Linked DNA regions of Homo sapiens: region 2 is linked to region 1. The links are contacts of gene promoters, found by promoter capture Hi-C in blood cells and fetal thymus (Javierre and others, 2016). All regions are on one chromosome and are shown on one strand. Each heading gives the region's core, a stretch centred on a gene start or on the middle of the fragment in contact. The rest is flanking DNA. Distances are from core to core; before and after follow the strand shown. Region 1 holds the start of H2BC3 (H2B clustered histone 3). Region 2 holds the start of TDP2 (tyrosyl-DNA phosphodiesterase 2).

The links. Contacts are between HindIII fragments. The CHiCAGO score rates a contact against its expected background, and 5 or more counts as called.
Region 2: the fragment with the promoter of TDP2 here is called in contact with the fragment with the promoter of H2BC3 in region 1 in 1 of 17 cell types (M1 macrophages); the score reaches 6.7 in M1 macrophages.

The regions. Positions count from the first base shown.
Region 1 is chr6:26,040,120-26,045,540 of GRCh38, reverse strand. It overlaps H2BC3 (H2B clustered histone 3), which reads left to right and starts at 1,828. Exons shown (of 1, transcript NM_021062.3): 1 at 1,828-2,314. The coding sequence starts at 1,884. The coding sequence ends at 2,264. It overlaps H3C3 (H3 clustered histone 3), which reads right to left and starts at 157. Exons shown (of 1, transcript NM_003531.3): 1 at 1-157. The coding sequence starts at 130. It also overlaps the pseudogene H2AC5P. RefSeq lists enhancers at 1-114, 1,345-1,584. The HindIII fragment of the contact is 16,277 bases long and covers 1-5,421 here.
Region 2 is chr6:24,665,322-24,670,492 of GRCh38, reverse strand. It overlaps TDP2 (tyrosyl-DNA phosphodiesterase 2), which reads left to right and starts at 3,594. Exons shown (of 7, transcript NM_016614.3): 1 at 3,594-3,795; 2 at 3,882-3,967. The coding sequence starts at 3,631. It overlaps ACOT13 (acyl-CoA thioesterase 13), which reads right to left and starts at 3,416. Exons shown (of 3, transcript NM_018473.4): 1 at 3,149-3,416. The coding sequence starts at 3,229. It overlaps LOC124901279 (a long non-coding RNA gene), which reads left to right. Exons shown (of 2, transcript XR_007059509.1): 2 at 555-1,376. RefSeq lists enhancers at 3,378-3,672, 3,204-3,875, 3,876-4,548. The HindIII fragment of the contact is 8,130 bases long and covers 1-4,686 here.

The DNA.
Region 1 (5,421 bases), core at 579-3,078:
GGCGGTAGCGATGAGGTTTCTTCACGCCACCGGTGGCCGGAGCGCTCTTACGGGCTGCTTTAGTAGCAAGCTGCTTGCGCGGAGCTTTGCCGCCGGTAGACTTGCGAGCTGTTTGCTTCGTACGAGCCATTTGCAATGAGAGCACACACAAAAGTGTAGTGAACTGAGAGCAAGTGGCCTTTAAATATAGTGAGAAACATTCTGATTGGTCCTGTAATATTTCAAAAGTCCCGCGCGATAAAATCATTGGCTGAAGAGTGACCAGACTGATTGGTTCATTACTAGACAATCTTATTGGATGAGTTGCCCCACCGCCCATCCTGTCCTTTTCGTTTCAGTTATCTGCAGCGACAAATTGTCTAAAATTCTAGTTCATCCAGTCCCAAAGAACAGAGTGTATAACAAGGTATCTAAGGATTTTTAAAATGTAAATTCCGATTCAGTAAGTTTGAGTGGGACTTGAAATTCTGCATTCCTGACAGTCTCGCAAGTTATCAATGCTGGTGAACACTCACTAAACCACCAGAAACGTTCAGACTCATGTCGGGAAATAACGCTTATATTCAGAGAATGAGATTCCATGCTATTTTGTTACTGGCGAACAGCAAGTTTCCTTGCCCTTTGTTTTCTAAGTCCAAGTCACATTCCCACCCTGCCTGTTCTCAAAATGTCTTATTTTGGTTGGCCTTAAGTTTCACTTTGTATACTCTAAAATGTACTTTCTAAAGGAAGGTGTTATTTTCTCGAAACTTAACTTTTTAACACCATTAGGCTAGGGGGGCGGTGGCTCACGCCTGTAATCCCAGCATTTTGGGAGGGCGAGATGGGACGATCACTAGAGGCCAGGAGTTCAAGACAACCCTGGCTAAAATGGTGAAACCCCGTCTCGCATAAAAATACAAAAACTAGCTGGGCGCGGTAGCAGACGCCTGTAATCCCAAGTACACAGGAGGCTGAGGCATGAGAACCGCGTGAAGCGGCGGGGTGGAGGTTGCAGTAAGCCGATATCGCGCCGCTGCACTCCAGCCTGGGTGACAGAACTAGACTGTCTCAAAACAAACCAATCCAAACGAAAAGCAAAAAATACCCTAACAGAAGCAAGTTATCATCCTTTCTTGTGTAACTATGGACGGCTCTGAAAAATGCCGTTTCAAGTGTAAGCTACGTTTTCTGATTTGAGTGTTTACTTGACCTTGGCCTTATCGTGGCTCTGTTATTTTGGCAACAGGACGGCCTGAATATTGGACAGGACGCCTCCCTGAGCAATAGTGACGTTGCCCAGCTGCTTGTTGACCTCCTCGTCGTTTCGGATGGCCAGCTGCAGGTGGCGGGGGATGATGCTGCGGGTCTTGTCACGTATGGCGCTGCCCACCAGTTCTAAGATCTCGGCGGCCAGGTATTGTAAGTACACTGGCGCACCGGCTCCGACCGGCTCAAAATAATTGCCCTTTCGAAAAAGATGACGGACTCTGCCCTATTGGGAACTGCAAGCCCGGTAGCGACGAACAAGTTTTTGCTTTAGCTCCATTTTCCACGTCCGCAAATAGCGACCTATGAAAGCAGCGGAAAACTGTGAAAGACAAGCAAGCTGGAATGGCGCCTGAACAAATCCTTTTATACAAACTGCAAGGCTGCAATAGGAAGCTATCCTATTGGTCAATTATGTTTGGTGCTTTATCCAATAGAAAAAGATAACATAAATTCCATATTTGCATAAACCCCACCCCTCAGTGAAACCGTGTTTCTTTTGTCCAATCAGAAGTGAGGAATCTTAAACCGTCATTTGAATCTCAGGACTATAAATACATGGGCTCTGAACTGTTCTCTGTACTACTCTGTAGTGGAGAGTGTTAGTAGCTTTTCTATTCTGTTTAGGAATAGCAATGCCTGAACCCTCTAAGTCTGCTCCAGCCCCTAAAAAGGGTTCTAAGAAGGCTATCACTAAGGCGCAGAAGAAGGATGGTAAGAAGCGTAAGCGCAGCCGCAAGGAGAGCTATTCTATCTATGTGTACAAGGTTCTGAAGCAGGTCCACCCCGACACCGGCATCTCATCCAAGGCCATGGGGATCATGAATTCCTTCGTCAACGACATCTTCGAGCGCATCGCGGGCGAGGCTTCTCGCCTGGCTCACTACAATAAGCGCTCGACCATCACCTCCAGGGAGATTCAGACGGCTGTGCGCCTGCTGCTGCCTGGGGAGCTGGCTAAGCATGCTGTGTCCGAGGGCACTAAGGCAGTTACCAAGTACACTAGCTCTAAATAAGTGCTTATGTAAGCACTTCCAAACCCAAAGGCTCTTTTCAGAGCCACCTACTTTGTCACAAGGAGAGCTATAACCACAATTTCTTAAGGTGGTGCTGCTGCTATTCTGTTTCAGTTCTAGAGGATCAACTGGAATGTTAGCGAAGACAAGTTTTAGAGCCAAGGTTAACTTGGACGGGGCCGTGCGCGGTGCCTCTTGCCTTTAATCCCGGCAATTTGGGAGGCCGAGGCGGGCGGATCACGAGGTCAGGAGATGGAGACCATCCTGCTTAACACGATGAAACCCCGTCTCTACTAAAAATACAAAATAATTAGCTGGGCGTGATGGTGGGCGCCTGTAGTCCCAGCTACTCGGGAGGCTGAGGCAGGAGAATGGCGTGAACGCGGGAGGCGGAGCTTGCAGTGAGCCGAGATCGCGCCATGGCACTCCAGCCTGGGTGACAGAGCGAGACTCCGTCTCAAAAAAAAAAAAAAAAAAAAATTAAAAAAATATGAAGTTTTGAAGCAGAAATTATTTTGTCGTATGTTCTTTCATAAATTTTTTGCCTGCCTGCCTTCTTCCTTTGTTACAGAACTCCAACACTTACCCAAAGGTAGCTGTTGGGTCAGGGTTTCTGTACTATAGTCCCTTCTGTGGTGGCCAGAAATATGTTACAGGAAAGAGGTCCCCATCCAGACCCCAAGAGAGGGTTCTTGGATCCCGCGCAAGAAAGAGTTCAGGGTGAGTCCGCAGTGCAAAGTAAATGCAAGTTTACTAAGAAAGTAAAGTGGTGAAACGACAACTACTCCATAGACGGAGCAGGACATTCCCGAAAGTAAGAGGAGGAAGGCATCCACCCTAGGTACAATACTTGTATATATGGGGAGATGTGCTCTGCTACAAGTTTGTGATAAAGGATTAATTTTCTTAGTTACTATATTTTGCAAGAATCAACATTATTATCTTTAAACAAAATTAAGAATGCCTTTGTTCTCCAGATATAGGGATATCTGGACACTCCTAAGTCTGAGTCTGTTTAGTAAACATTATTTATTTGTTCCCTTAACCGTAAACATCTAGAAGCTAGGAATGACTGACTTTCTGGGAATGCAGCCCAGAAAGTCTCAGCCTCATTTTCCTAGCCCTCACTCAAAATGGAGTTACTCTGGTTCAAGTAACTCTGACACTTTTCTTCTCTTTTTTTCTTCTTTTTTCCTTCCTTTATTTTTTATTTTTTATTTTTGAAATAAGAAATCAAGAATACTTGATGTTTCATCTAAAACAATACCCATAATTGATAAGCCAAAACAAAAACCTAGGTCTTCTAACTCAAAACTAGGATGTTTTGCTGTCTCTGCTGATACTCGGCTGATCGTTAATAGGTAATTAACAAACAAGCCTTGCTATGTCCCCCTCAGTTTATTACCATTAGATCATATGCCTACTGTCAATCATATTAATCCACAACTATGCATTTCACAAAACTTGCCATAAAAATTCACAGGTTTCCCGCTTCCCTCGAGTTTTCATTTCCGAAGGGTCCCATGTAATATAAAACTTATATTAAATACATTTGTATGCTTTTCTCTTGCTAATCTTTTTTTTTGTTTTTTGAGACTGAGCCTTGCTCTGTCACCCAGGCTGGAGTGCAATGGCGCGATCTCGGCTCACTGCAACCTCCGCTTCCCAGGTTCAAGCGATTCTACTGCCTCGCCCTCCCGAGTAGCTGGGACCACAGATACGTGCCACCATGCCCCGCTAATTTTTGTATTTTTAGTAGAGACAGGGTTTCACCGTGTTGGCCAGGATGTTCTCAATCTCCTTACCTCGTGATCCGCCCGCCTCGTCCTGCCAAAGTGCTCGGATTACAGACGTGAGCCACTGCACCCGACCAATCTGTCTTTTTGTAGAGGGGCCTCAAGCATGAACTTACTGATGGGTGAGAAAAACAGAATTTTCTTTTCCCCTACAATATAAACATTAATTGTAATGTTATCATTCAGGACATTTTGGTGACCAATCTTACAGAAATTTTATCTTGTGCAAGTCTATGCAAACCAATATGTAAATCTTCTATAAGTGAGATTGTATTTCACTTTTCTAGTATCCTTTTAAATTAATAAAAGAGATTCTAATGATTATTTTCATTACTGCATTTCATTGTAGGGAAGTAGATAATTGCCCTTTATTCACTGACCTTCGCTTTTTAAAAATTTAAACCATGTTACCATGAAAATGCTTTTCAGTATTTCTCTACACACAAGATTGCTGTAAGGGCAAAAATAGAGATAGGAATCATGCATCCATTGATATACATATTTTGATTTTTAATACATGTTACCAAGTTGCCTCCTGAAGGTCTGTTTACACTCTCACCAACAGGGTGTTTTTTCCTGACTTCCACAAATGCTCTTGAACAGTGGGTGTGTTAGTCTGTTCAAATTGCCGACATGAACAATTAAATCTCATTGTTGTTTTTATTTTTAAGACAATTATTGTTTGAGACTGCACATTTTGATAATAACATTTCTTCTATTATGGTTTGATTACTCATGATTCTTGCCCATTTTCTTTTGGGATGTTGCCTTATGTACATTATTTTAAATAGATAGCTCCATGTATTAAAAGATTATTAAGTTTGAGGGCTTATGATATGTCAGTTACATTTCTAAGATTTTTTTTTTTTTTTTTTTTGAGACGGAGTTTCACACTTGTTGCCCAGGCTGGAGTGCAATGGTGCGATCTCGGCTCACCGCAACCTCCGCCTCCAGGGTTCAAGCAATTCTCCTGCCTCAGCCTCCCCAGTAATTGGGACTACTGGCAAGCGCCACCACGCCTGGCTAATTTTGTATTTTTATTAGAGATGAGGTTTCTCCATGTTGGTCAGACTGGTCTCGAACTGCCGACCTCAGGTGATCCACCCGCCTCGGCCTCCCAAAGTGCTGGGATTACAGGTATGAGCCACTGGGCCCGGCCACATTTCTAAATTCTTTATAAGTATAAATTCATTCAATCTTCACCAAAACTCAATGAAGTGTGAGTACTATTATTATCATTGTTTTACAGATCAAAACAAGTAATACAGTCACTTACTGAGTTCTATACACCTGGTAATTTTTTTGTTTCGTTGTTCTATCAATTATTGGGGAAGGGGTGTTGAAATCTCTACCTTTAAATC
Region 2 (5,171 bases), core at 2,345-4,844, 1.4 Mb after region 1:
GGAGCCAATAAAAGCCCTTGGGAAAACTGGCCTCACACTTTACAAAGTCCCTGTACAGGGTTTCTGATATGTGCTAAGTAAAGAATGTCATTTTCTGACAGGTCCAGGAGCCCCTGGTTTATCATGGAACATCAAAAAGAGGAAATTCACCCTACTCATAGGTATTTGATGGTACAAATCCATGGCTGAGCTTGGCTTTAAAAAGAATCTTATCTGAGATTCCTTCTATGGAACAAAGTTCCTTCAAAGCCAATTTTAAAAAGCCTATGTGAAAAATAATTATTCTTGCTACACTTTATATAAATAATCTGGTCAAATATAATAAAGCAAATCAGTCCTACCATGATTTGTCTTTAGTAAAAATGGAAAACTGGAGAGAGAAAAATTGTTTCAAAACTTACAGTCCACTTGTTGTTAGATACTAGTCTTGCCTAATTTTTTCAATTTTTATTATTTTCTACAGTTTAGGCTGAATTCTAATTTTTCCTGGCTACAAGTCTCCAAAATAATATTTTTAATTTTTTTCTTTTCTTTTCCTTTTTTTTCCTAATTAGGAGTCACTGAAAACAGCTGTGCTTTTGTAAAGCCCTGCAAACTGAAGCTAGACAACTTAAACTTCAGAAGAAAATAACAGCAACCTATTTACACGCATAAGCCACTTTCATACCTGCCTACTGATGTATGGACTTCAGAATAACGTGGCCTATGTATATTTTCCAGGATTGTTCTTTTGTTTGTTGTTTTTCACCCTTCCTCCCCCTATTTTCTCTTCACAAGACATGGGAGTTCACAGCCTTCTAAAAATTAGCTTTCCTAATAACTTGGGACTTACCTGTCTAGGAATAAACCATCCTAGCATGAGCGATCAGATGAAATCTGGGACCAAAGACTCATTTTTCTTCTAAAATGCTTTCTCCAAAAAAAAATTTTTTTTAAAAAAAAGAAAAGGGGGCAAATGTAAAGGAAAATATCTTGGGCCCCCAAATCACTAAGTTAAAAGGAAAATTCAAGCTAGGAACTACTTAAGACAAACTTGCCTCCCATTCTATTCAAAGTCATCCCTCTGCTCATTGAGATAAATGTGTATCTGACTGCCTCCTTAGGAAAGGTAAATCAGAAACTCAAAAGAATGCAACCATTTGTCTCCCACCTACCCGTGACCTGGAAGCCCCCTTCCCGCTTCAAGTTGTCCCGCCTTTCCGAACCCAACCAGTGTTCATTTTACATATATTGATTGATGTCTTATATGTCCCTAAAACGCATAAAACCAAGCTGTGCTCTGACCACCTTGGGCACATGTTGTCAGGACCTCCTGAGGCTGTGTCACTGCGTGCGCATCCTCAACCTTGGCAAAATAAACTTTCTAAATTAACTGATACCTGTCTCAAATTTTTGGGGTTCACAAGGTTTAGTTATAAATGCTTCTTATGGAGCATGATTTTCTTACAAGCGAGGCAGGAGAATCGGATCTGGAGGCAGGGAACCTAGGGCTGTTTCACGCTGACTTCCTAGAACTAAATTGAAAGTAAAACCCTAACTTCCCACACCAAGTAACAAAAGAACCAGAGGCTTCTCCCTTTCCAAACCCCCACCTTTTCTGTGTGGCAGATGGGAAATTGAAAGTACCTCTGATTGGTTGCAAAAAGCAAAATTACGCTAAGAAGTAAGTTATCCCTTAAAAAAAATTATTCTTTCTGCAACCAATCAGATCTTCCCATAGGAGTGTAACTATGTAACTTCACCATCTGATTGCACGCCACGTCTTCGTTTGCATATAAGGGCAACTTTGTAACTTCACTTTAGCCTTTCATTGGTTGCTTTTCACAGCCAATTGTGGGTCACCACTTCATTTACATGAGATGAGTACCAAGTGGCCAATAGGAGACTTCAATGGGGTATTAGGGCCCCTGAGCTGCTGCTCCACACCCCAAACACAGGAGTGTCCTTTCATTTTCAGTAAATCCCTGCTTTTGGCGGGGCATGGTGGCTCATGCCTGTAATCCCAGCACTTCGGGAGGCCAAGGCAGGTGGATCACCTGAGGTCAGCAGTTTGAGACCAGCCTGACCAACATGATGAAACCCTGTCTCTAATAAAAATAAAGAATTAGCCAGGCTTGGTGGCGCATGCCTGTAATCATCCCAGCTACTTGGAAGGCTGAGGCATGAGAATCACTTGAACCCAGGAGGCGGAGGTTGCAGTGAGCCGAGATCGTGTCACTGCACTCCCGCATGGGCAACAGAGCAAGACTCCATCTCAAAACAACAACAACAACAAACACCTTCAAGGTCTGGCGTGGCGGCTCACACCAGTAATCCCAGCACTTTGGGAGGCGGAGGCAGGCGTTTCACCTGAGGTCGGGAGTTCGAGAGCAGCCTGACCAACATGGAGAAACCCTGTCTCTACTAAAAGTACAATATTAGCTGGGCATGGTGGCGCATGCCTGTAATCCCAGCCACTCGGGAGGCTGAGTGAGGCAGGAGAATTGTTTGAACCAGGGAGGTGGAGGTTGCAGTGAGCCGAGATCGCGCCATTGCACTCCAGCCTAGGCAACAAGGGCGAAACCTCATCCTAAAAAAACAAAAACAAACAAACACCTTCGGGCTTTGTGAGTGCTGGTCTCAGAAAAGCACTCAGTCTTCCTCCAAGGGCTAACTTACTTCTTCAGGAGTTGGGTGCCTTTGAGAAATTTCCCAAACCACTACAGAGGAACAACTTCTCCCTTCGTTCACCACTCTACCAAGCACTTGGCTTTTGTACCTTATTGCAATTATTTATCTTCTAATCTTCTAGAGCCTAGAGAATTAGACTGTAATGTGCCTTAAATGCAGAGGTTTCTCTTACTCTTCTCTGGAGCAATGCAGACGTTTGTTGGTTGAAGGATCAAACTCCAAAGTCCCTCCCAGCCTTGGAACTGTCTCCACGAGTCATAACCATACTTATCTATGTTTAGATAGAGAACTTACGCGTTCGACCCAGCATATTTAGGGGCTCCATTAAAGTAATAATCATTATTACTAAGGTGAATTTACAGGCGTACTAGAACACAACCTAACAAGAGATAATTATTCAAAGCTCACAACGGCACCAAGCACGGTGCTTTCTTTTCCTTCATTAGAAGCCACGGCTTCTCCCCTACCTTTCCCATACCTTTCCCAAAACTCTCTCAAAATTGCGAGCCTTGGTCATGGCCTTTATCACCTCCCGCAGAGACTGAGTCATGCTGGTCATCGTGGACGGTTTTCCAGCCTTTGGGCTTTGCGCAAGAACGAACTTCGGAAGAGCTGGAAAGTCCAGAAGTTAGTGAAAGAAGGAGGACACAAAGGGCGAAGAGCCCGCACCCTTCTCCGCCCCTAGGAGCGCAAGAGGCCGGGAGTCAGGCGAGCTGGCAGCCCCGGTGGTCCGCGATTTGCTCACTGACTTTCCTCGCACCCTTGTGACGAAGCGCGCATGCGCGCTTCGCACCCACCGCCCCGGCGGCTCCCTTGCGGCGCAGCTGCACCAGTTTTCCGAGAGCAGCGCATTTCCCCGCCGGGCGGTTGATGCGGGAGCGCCATGACACAGGCGCCTGCGCAGAGCCGCGCGTTGGCCTCCTGTTCCGCTTAAAGGGGCGGTGCAGAGGCGGCAGGAAGATGGAGTTGGGGAGTTGCCTGGAGGGCGGGAGGGAGGCGGCGGAGGAAGAGGGCGAGCCTGAGGTGAAAAAGCGGCGACTTCTGTGTGTGGAGTTTGCCTCGGTCGCAAGCTGCGATGCCGCAGTGGCTCAGTGCTTCCTGGCCGAGAACGACTGGGAGATGGAAGTACGCTTTCGCTGTCCTCGCTTCCGGCTCCATTACCTAGGTCGGTGGAGCGCACAAACCTCATCCCTTGTGCCTTTGTTTTTCAGAGGGCTCTGAACTCCTACTTCGAGCCTCCGGTGGAGGAGAGCGCCTTGGAACGCCGACCTGAAACCATCTCTGAGCCCAAGACCTAGTAAGTGATGAGGGGAGCGGGAGCCAGTCCGCACGGAGGCAGTTTGATACCAGGTAGCCCTGCGCGTCCTGGGACCTGCCGTGGAGCTGGGCGGACGATGCTGAGGCAGATCTCCAAGCTGCGTAGCCAGAGGAGCAGGGCTTGCGTTGCTGCTGCTGCGCGGAGTTGCGCCCCAGCAGCGGATCTAACACTGCACCAGACTGTCGCTTCGAACGTGATTTGGGGTCCAGGGAGGAAAAGATGGAAATGTAATGTTTAACTCAAATGAAAGGAAATAAGTAAGCGAGAGGTTTGAAACAAATGAACGAAGGCTAAACCTTCTATCGAAAAATGGCAACTTGGAAGTCTCCTTGCTTCCTGTATTGTTTATTTATTCTAGGCCCTAGGCTGACCGGCCAGAATAACAGGTTTGTTGTTGTTGTTATTTTTTTTTAATGCACACCTACTCCTGTTATTTCAGTGCCCCTCTCCAGTTCCTGCACTTAAAAAGTGTAGCTGCCTTACAAGGCCCTCTACTATTTGGCTCCATAACTTAGAACCTGCCTTTCCAGGTTCCAGGCCTATCAAACTTTTACTTTTTTCCAACGGGTCATTTTCTCCTGTCTTTGAAACTTCGTAAAGATCTTTATTACCTGTGCCTGGAATTTTTTTCTTTTCCCTTCCTTGCTAATATTTGTCTTAAAGCCCCAAGCTGAGACATGATTTATCTCTAGGAAGCTTTTCCTGATGTCCTAAGTCTGGGTAAGAGTCCCCTTTTAGGTACTCTTATAGCATCCTGCATGACCCCTGTTACAATACCTTAGTCCGTATTATAATTGCTGTTCATTATTTTATGTCTCCTACTAGACTGCACATCTAGTAAGGAGTATCTGTTTTGTACATTGTTAATTTCCCAAAGTCTGACACAACATTTGACACATAATAAGCTCCCAATAAATATTTACTGAATGTATAAAATTCTCCCAGCTATATGTACAACCTGTAAAATTGACTGTTCATAGTGGAGACTTTATTTTCCCTTTGGTCTTTTCAGCTACACTGGCTTACAGATGTGATAAGATATTTTCTTTAGGTTCCTTTCTCTGTCTTGCCTCTTGTTGGGGAATTGTTTACTCACCCACAGTGATTTGTCTCTGGCTCCCGTTTTACTAACCAGAGCAAGTTGGACTAGGAGGTGTTTGCCTAGCTCAAACTGGCCAGTCAG